Linked DNA regions of Homo sapiens: region 2 is linked to region 1. Evidence: promoter capture Hi-C in 16 types of primary human blood cells and fetal thymus (Javierre and others, 2016). All regions are on one chromosome and are shown on one strand. The core of a region is centred on a gene start or on the middle of the fragment in contact, and the rest is flanking DNA. Distances in the headings are between cores, read along the strand shown.

Evidence for each region. The method cuts DNA at HindIII sites, captures the fragments that hold promoters and counts their contacts. A CHiCAGO score of 5 or more calls a contact.
Region 2: a fragment that was not itself captured here is called in contact with the fragment with the promoter of GRIA3 in region 1 in 1 of 17 cell types (M1 macrophages); the score reaches 6.6 in M1 macrophages.

What each region holds. Positions count from the first base shown.
Region 1 is chrX:123,182,583-123,186,679 of GRCh38, reverse strand. GRIA3 (glutamate ionotropic receptor AMPA type subunit 3) reads right to left here and starts at 2,402. Exons shown (of 16, transcript NM_007325.5): 1 at 2,036-2,402; 2 at 690-848. The coding sequence starts at 2,144. The HindIII fragment of the contact is 6,706 bases long and covers 1-4,097 here.
Region 2 is chrX:120,783,336-120,787,432 of GRCh38, reverse strand. No RefSeq gene overlaps it. Among named protein-coding and RNA genes, the nearest start is that of CT47B1, 90 kb to the left of the region's middle. The HindIII fragment of the contact is 1,994 bases long and covers 1,090-3,083 here.

The DNA of each region.
Region 1 (4,097 bases), core at 1,153-3,652:
ACCTGATCACCATTTTCTCCCCTCCCCTCAGTTTGCTAGGCATTCATCACTTGCAATCAGTTTGTAGTCTTATGAGTTCCTATCAGAGCTCTCTCAGTAAGTAAGGTAATATTTGAGGACAGAAAGAGGCCAGGGAACCCAGCCTGTTCTGCCCCTCAAGGTCACTTGTTTGCAGAATTTCTCATATTTGCTTCCTACACATTAGGCAATTGTCAAATTCAGCTCGTTCCTAGAGCCAGGCACTAGCTTTAACAGTCAAGTGATGTACATCCTGAATTGACTCAATCAAGAAGCTGCTGCTGCTTTTTTAAATCTCATCTGAAGAAATTTCTCTGAACAACCGTGCTATTTTTTTCTTTCTTTCTTTTTTTTTCCCCAGTTAAAAAAAAAAGAGAGAGAGTGTTGGAGAAGGAACACACTAGGTTAGCATGGAGGAAAATGAAACTTTTGCATCAAACACTATTTGGAGCAGACTTTTGCCCACTGTCTTGAGTTTTTCCCACTGTCTTAAGCCCCTCAGCAGTATCATTTGGAGTTGATTTATGCAACATGAAACCGGATGGATTAGAGCCCCTAAAATATCTACTGAAGCAATCATCTCCCAGCACATACACAGACCCTAAGTGCCACAAGAAAGATGCAAATGAGGTCCCCAACGTCCCAAAGGGAGGAAAAGCAGATCTACTTACAAGCATTTGTCACGGAAAAACTATTGGAGGAATCCAAGTGATCTACGTGGTAATTCAAATGGAAGGGCTTCTCGGTGGTGTTCTGGTTGGTGTTGTATAACTGCACGGCAAAGCGGAAAGCGCTGTGCTCCTGCACTGTGTTTCTCATGAAAAGTCCACCTATAAGCAAAGGGAACGGAGATTTGGCTTGTGTTCCCCCACACTAGGGCCAGTTAGGAATTGGGGAACAATATAGATACCGGATACCTCTCAATGATACTGGGGTGTGGGATTGAGGATTGATATTCAACCTGTGTGTCTTTCAAGACTTGTGAACTCAGATTTTGGCCAAGAGAAACCTGGCTTTTCTAGACTGAAAAGAAGAGGCTAGAGAGAAGGGAGAAGAGACGAGGGAGCCGTTTTGGGTTAGGACGATGGAACCAAGAGTGAGACTTGGTTCTTTCTTAGTCGGCAGCCTTCTTTTTTTTTAGTCGCCCCCCCCCTCCGCCCCCCGCCCATCCGCACAGCTGGTCATCTTTTCATTGTGTGAAGGGAAAGGTTGGGAAGAAAAACAATATTGTTCCCCCTGCTACCCCAACCCGTTCCCCATAGCCACCCTCCCCCGTGACAATACAGGGGGTTGGTTCAGTAATGGCAAAAATTCTAACTTCTAGACTTGTAAATACGACAGAAGCCAAGATAACTCCCTCCAGGCGCCCAGGAGCCGGGCTCCAGACAGACACAGCGGCAATTCATGAATTCGTGGTCTGCGTGACTTCGCCGCTTGCCCGCTCAGCTCCTAGTCTCACCCCCGCCTCCTACCCCATCCACCACCAACGCCTGCTGCTGCCCGGGTCTGGGAGATCCAAAGTGGGCTCCACCTCCCCCAGCACCAGCCTGTCTCCCGACAGCCGGAGACCACGGACTGAGCACCCCGGGCCCGGGTTATGCGCCCTGGCGCGGCCAGACAGTCGGCATCACCCTGGGACAACTTCCAGGAGCTGCACGCACGCCATGGCAAAGTCCAGAGCAGCGAGCCGAAAAGCCTCGACTCTTCACCCCCTTGCAGCATCCCAGCCTCCTGCTCGCCTCCGGTGCTCCTCTCGGCTCGGAAAACCTAGCAGTTCACCCCCACTAGCCCCAGGAGACCCCTCTCTTGTCCCAGAGGCTCTTCAGACCAGCCACCTCGTTGAGGCTCAGATTCCCCCCGCCCCGCCCCCCGCCCCGCACCATCTCTGCCCGGTCCCGGCCCCAGTCCCAGTTCCCAGGCCACGCAGGACAGGGACCCACCGCAGGGAAAGCCTTGCCGGGGCAGTGGTCTCGGGTGAGGGAGAGCCTGGACCGACGGCTGGCTCGCTTGCGCTTACCTATGCTGATGGTGTTGGGGAATCCTCCGTGAGAATGACCCAAAAGCCCCAGGACTAAAAAGAAGACCGCCCGGAGCACGCTTTGCCCCATTTTCTTCTGCCTGGCCATGCTACGCCTAAAACGAAGCTGACAAGAGCATGGGCGCAACTCAGGAGTCGTCAAAATAATAATAGAAAAAGAAAAAGAATTCGCTGGCTCTTACACCCCCTCCCCTTAACTTGCTCTCGCTCACTCTTCCTTTCCACCCCACACTAGTCCTCCTCCTCCTCCGCTGCCGCCGCCTCCTCTTCTTCCTCTTCTTCTCTCTCCCTCTTACTCTCTCTCTTATTCGCTCGCTCTCTCTCGCTCGCTCTCTCTTCCTTTCTTGCTCCCTCTCTCTCCCTCTCGCTCCCAGGATCTCTCACACCCCCTCCCTTCCCCCCACCTCACTTCTGTCTTCACACCAATCTGGAAGGCGGGTTCATTGGCTGCAAGCTGGGTTTGCCAAAGCGATTTCTGTCCCTATGATAGAGAGAGAGAGAGAGAGAGAGAGAGAGAGAGAGAGAGAGAATAAAATCCTAAAACAGAACAAAACAAGCAAAACACTGAAAAACAAAAATAGAGAAGCAAAAGAAAGAGAACGAAAGAATAAATTATCAAGACAATCTGAGACTCTCTCCGCGCCCCCCCCCCCCCGCAAAAGATGGTAGGTCTAAAGAGGGGGGGAAAAAAAGGAAAGAGCGAAAAGGCTCAGTGCCGGTGAATTGGGCTCTTCCAATTGGGCCAGTAGGGGGATATTGATCAAAGTTGATCTGACGTGGAATTAAAGCCGCACACCGCTTAGCTCTACTGCAAACTGCAGCCCCGGACTGCAAAGCCTAGGCGCTGGCGTTTGTCAACACCGGAGATGGGATCAATAGAAATACACCACTCCTAACGTGGATCAACCTTTCAAGCTGCAACGTCCTCCCACCCTTTAAAAAAAAATAGCTGCATTGCCTCTGTGTTTGTGTGTCTGTCTTAAAGAAGGGGGGCCTTAGGAGGGCCATTAGTGGTTACTCCGGAGTCTTTGTAGAGACTCAGAGAAGCAGTTCCCATCACAATGCGCCCGAAGATGCTGCGCATGCCCGGTCTCTGCCGCTCCGCTTTTACAGCAGAGATCCGAGGGCGAGTGAGCAACCCCCACCCCCATCCCCGCAGCTTTGGGAGGCGTGTCCCTCCCCTTAAACTAGTGCTGAGGCCGGCTTGCGGGGGCATGGGGTGGGCGGTGCTGAGCAGTGATGGGCAGTATGGGGCTGACTTCTTTGGAGGGCATAGGAAAAAGTATGTGCGTAGAGGTAGTAACTAAAAGGTTAATGAAAAGGACGCTCAGGCTCACTGACCAAGGAGGAGGGAGGTGTGGGAATGAGCTGGTCTGGGGGTGGGGATTGAAAGTTGAGGCTGGAGAAAACTGTACCTAGCTGCATTGATCCCTTGGTGTTGCCTCTGGACTTAGCAGCCTAGGCCCCTGACTGATGACCTCAGAGGTTATCAATTCTTTCTGACTCTTCTTCCCCTCTGCTCTAAGGCGAGCAAAGAACCTATGAAGTCCTACAGTACAGACCGGATTTCAGTGACGGTGGCCTTCTCCATAGCATGCTGCGGATGAACCTCCTGGGCTATAGACTCCTCTCCCTAGCCCCTTTCTCCCGCAATGAGGAAAAAGAATCCTCTTTATCTCTCACGTTTTTCACTTTTACTTTACAGTTACTGTAGAAGGCATGGGTTTTATCCTCCCCACACCTGCTATTTTCCTTTTCATATCCTCTCCTCCTGGTCTAAGTGGAACATGAACTCTCCTGCCAGTGTAAAGCGAACTGATATACATCGGGGATAAAATTGGGAATATACAGGGGATAGAAGGACCCTGGAGCCCAGCTAGTATATCAGTTGCTACAGAACTTTGGATTTGGCGAGACGTAGTCTGGAGCCTGGAACAATGGAACAAAATGGCTTCAAACCAGAAAAATTGTCCTAGGCTCTTCCCAAATTTCTATTCATTCTGATAATGCATAATTTCCTCCCACCCACCACTCATAGAAA
Region 2 (4,097 bases), core at 837-3,336, 2.4 Mb after region 1:
CAGAGTCAAATCAAATTAAAATTAAATTAGCCTGTAAAGGCTGGGCACGGTGGCTCACACCTGTAATCCCAGCACTTTGGGAGGCCGAAGTGGGTGGATCACCTGAGGTTAGGAGTTCGAGACCAGCCTGGCCAACATGGCGAAACCCTGTCTCTACTAAAAATACAAAAAAATTAGCCGGGCGTAGTGGCGCTTGCCTGTAACCCCAGCTACTCTGTAGTCTGAGGCAGGAGAATCACTTGAACCTGGGAAGCAGAGGTTGCAGTGAGCTGAGCTTGCGCCACTGCACTCCAGACTGGGTGACAGAGACTCCGTCTCAAAAAACAAAAAAAAAAACAGCTTGTATTTATCGAGCATTTCCTAAAAGCCAAGTACTCTTTTAAGCAGTTTGAATATATTAAAACCACTCTGATGTAAATATTACCATTATCCCCATTTGACAGATAAGGACACCTGGAGCACAAAAAGATAAAACAGACTTTTCCAAGGTCCTATAAGGAGCAAGCGAAATATCCTAGCTGGGTTCTAAACCCAGAAAGTCTGCTATCAGAGGCCCCCACTCATAACACCACGGTTTACTGCCTCTTTTTGAGAAATTCTGCAGATTTCATCTATGATTTTCCTCTATCAGAAAAAATCTCCATATACATTAGCCCATTTGGAAGTCCTGCAGTAGAGAAATGTGCTTATATTTTATAACCCAATGTCTCCCAAACTTACTTGATCAGGGAATCCTGTTTTGTAACACCTGTTAAGCTCTCCAGAACAAAAGATCTTAAAAACACACTTTAGAAAAACCTAATTTGGCCTGAGGAGGACCACTCTTTTGCCCAATCTGTAAGTCATTGTGAGAAGACAGATGGAATAATGGAGAAAAAAAGTATGTGCATGTATATGCATGCGTGTGTGTATCTTAGAACAGTGCCAAAAACGGAATAAGTGCTATGTAAGTGTTTACTCTTGTTGTTGCTGGTAATGGTGGTGGTTGTGGTGGTGTCATTCTTAACACATATCTAATGCCTTTACTACATCTTTGGCTAATCTCGAAGGACAAGAAAGACAATTATATCATCATGAGGGAAAGAAGCTTATTTTATTTCTCTTAGAGTACACAAATGCAATTGGTATCACTGACAGCAAAGGCATCATGCCACCATCTCAGCCTTTGCATGGGCAACACTTAGTAAGAGGGAAACACAGCATACCACCCACTGTAATACAAATGCCTCTGTCTCTGTGCATATTGTTAATATTGGGCAGCTTCCTCCATCCCCGCCCCACTTCTTGGAAGCTCGAAAGTGCTTACCACCTTTATCCAATTTATTCTGGAAGTTTTGGACTATTTGCTTGAGTTACTCCAGTCAGATGGAGATTTGGCATGACATTCAGAAACCTTTCTTTCAAATCTCTGTGCTTCCAGGAATGCTGCTTGATAGCACCGAATATTGAACTCGTAGCGTGTTGGAGCAGGAGGCAGGTATGAGGAAGAAGGCAGAATTCCACGTGTGACAATTAGAAACCTCTCATACTGAAGAACAGGAGCTGGAAGGGCCCCAGGCTATCTATACTGTGATCAATCTGGCCACTCATGTCAGGTTACTATCATAATCATAATCAATAATTCCCCAAACCATATGAAGCTACAGGTAAAAGTGGGATATTAATGATCATAAACAGCATTTTCTCTGGTTTTCCCCCAAATCTATCATTACAGTATCTCTAGGTTCTCCACTTATTTCTCATAACCCCCATGGGTTGTCTCAAGTCTACCCATAAAGAAGCCTTCTCCACTTTACGGACTTCCTAGACCTTTGCTACCTATACCAAACCACAGGCACCTCATCGCTGCTACCAGTGCCTACCATGAAAGATGACAGCATTAATGTTTGTACCAAGGATACTGCTTAGTTCCCAAAGTCTCCAAGGCCACATCAAGCCACTGATGCTGCCTTGTACTGCTCTTTAAACAATATGGCACAAGGTGCTACTGCTGTGCCAATTACTAGAGACTGGGTAGCATCTGCAGCTCTGTGCTGCCCCTGGCATCACTGATGTGCTAACGCCTTCCAAGTGCCAAAGCTGAGTTCTGCTCCCTAGAAACCCCATGTGCCACAGTTGGCTATGTTCTGAGCTAACTCTCAATTAGGTAGGCATAAAAGCGGTGCTGCCTTATCTTTCTTCCAATATCCCACAGAGATCTTTAGAGAAACTACTGTTTTTTTCTGTTTGTGTTTTATTTTTACTTTCAACACCTCTTTACCTAAGATTTAGACATAAATTCCTGGGAAACTAGATCGATGGGTAAATCTTAATGGTGGGCAATAGACTATGCTCAGATTTACCCCAACTCTCCAACAACTAAGCCCATTTTATTGGACTGAGCATGTCCAATAGCATGTCTATTAGGGTATGTGACTCCCTTTCTTTCTTTCTTTCTTTCTTTCTTTCTTTCTTTTTTAAGATGGAGTCTCGCTGTTGCCAGGATGGAGTGCAGTGGCAGGATCTTGGCTCACTGCAACCTCCGCCTCCCTGGTTCAAGCGATTCTCCTGCATCAGGCTCCCGAGTAGCTGAGACTACAGGCACGCGCCACCACCCCCAGCTAATTTTTGTATTTTTAGTGGAGACGGGGTTTCACCATGTTGGCCAGGATAGTCTCCACCTCCTGACCCCGTGATCCACCCACCTCGGCCTCCCAAAGTGCTGGGATTACAGGCGTGAGCCACCACCCCCGGCCTGTGGCTCTCTTTCTAAGACACTCCTTATAGCCCATGAGGAAGTAGGATGAGGTGTCTCTTTACAGCACATCCAAAGATATCTGAATCCTAGTGGAAAACCTAGACTTGTCGCTTACTAGGCTGTCTTCTACAAGAGACTTTATTTCCAGCATGTCAGTTTTGCAAACCAATCTAAAAGACTGCAGGAAGATGCACTGGACTAGACAGCAAACAATCAGAATCCAAATTCCAGTTCTATCATTTATCAGCCATGTGATCCCTGGGCAGGCCATTTAACCTCCATCTACTGGGATAATAACTCCTGTGCCTACCTCAGGTTTGTCTATTCAAGAAGTATGTATTAAGCTTCTTTCTAAAGATAAAAGGCACAATTCTGGGTCTGTTGGAGATAAAATGAATAGTCACAGATTTTGCTAGCTAACATCATACAAACTAATGATAATATTTTTAAGAAAGTATTAGTTGAATACATAGTAGTTGCCCTGCACTTTACATGTTATCTCTTACCTCACAGAAACCCTATAAGATGTGCATGATTAAGCCCACCTTACAAATGCAGAAAACAAAAGTTTAATGAGGATCACAGATTTGTTCAAGTCACACATCTAGGAAGTGGTGGACCTGGGATTCAAATTCAGGTTTGTCCGAAGCCAGAGTATGATTTTTCCACTAGACCATACAGCCTCATGTATAAATAGCTATAATATGAGGTAGAAATGTATTCATTTCATAGGGCATAGATGAAGTGCCATAGAATCAAATGAGATGCATATGAAAGTGTTTTTATAAACAGTCAAGCTGACACAGTTATAAGGTGTTTCTGTTATTGTCATTAGGGTAAGTGCTCTATAAAATATGCTGGCTATAAAATTCCATCTGTAAATAGGAGTTAACCAAGTCTTGTAGAGATAATAAGAAAGGAGTATTTAATTTCAGCTGCAACAGATCATTGGAAGGCAACTGGTGCCTCATATTTGATCACTCTTCTAAATATTATTGCCCAGCATCTGTATATGGGCATGGGCAACCTATGTGAATGGATCAGAGCCCCCAGAGGTCAATGGTACGATCTGAGCAGAATGAAAATTAGTTCAGCACGTTGCAGCACACTAGACAGGCCTCCTGAGAAGACATATTTGGATGGGCTATTAAAGTCACTTGGTGAAGCAGGGCCTTGCTCAAAATGTGTGGACTACTGTGATCACTATGAGCAAGACCATGTACCCCAGCAGGATATGAAGAGCTGGCTTTTCAATGCAAACTGACACAGGGTCTCTTTATTGTGAGTTCAAGATCTAATAATCACAGCTTACATTTACTGAGCAGCTACTGTGTGCCAAGCACGGAGCTAAGCACAGTTA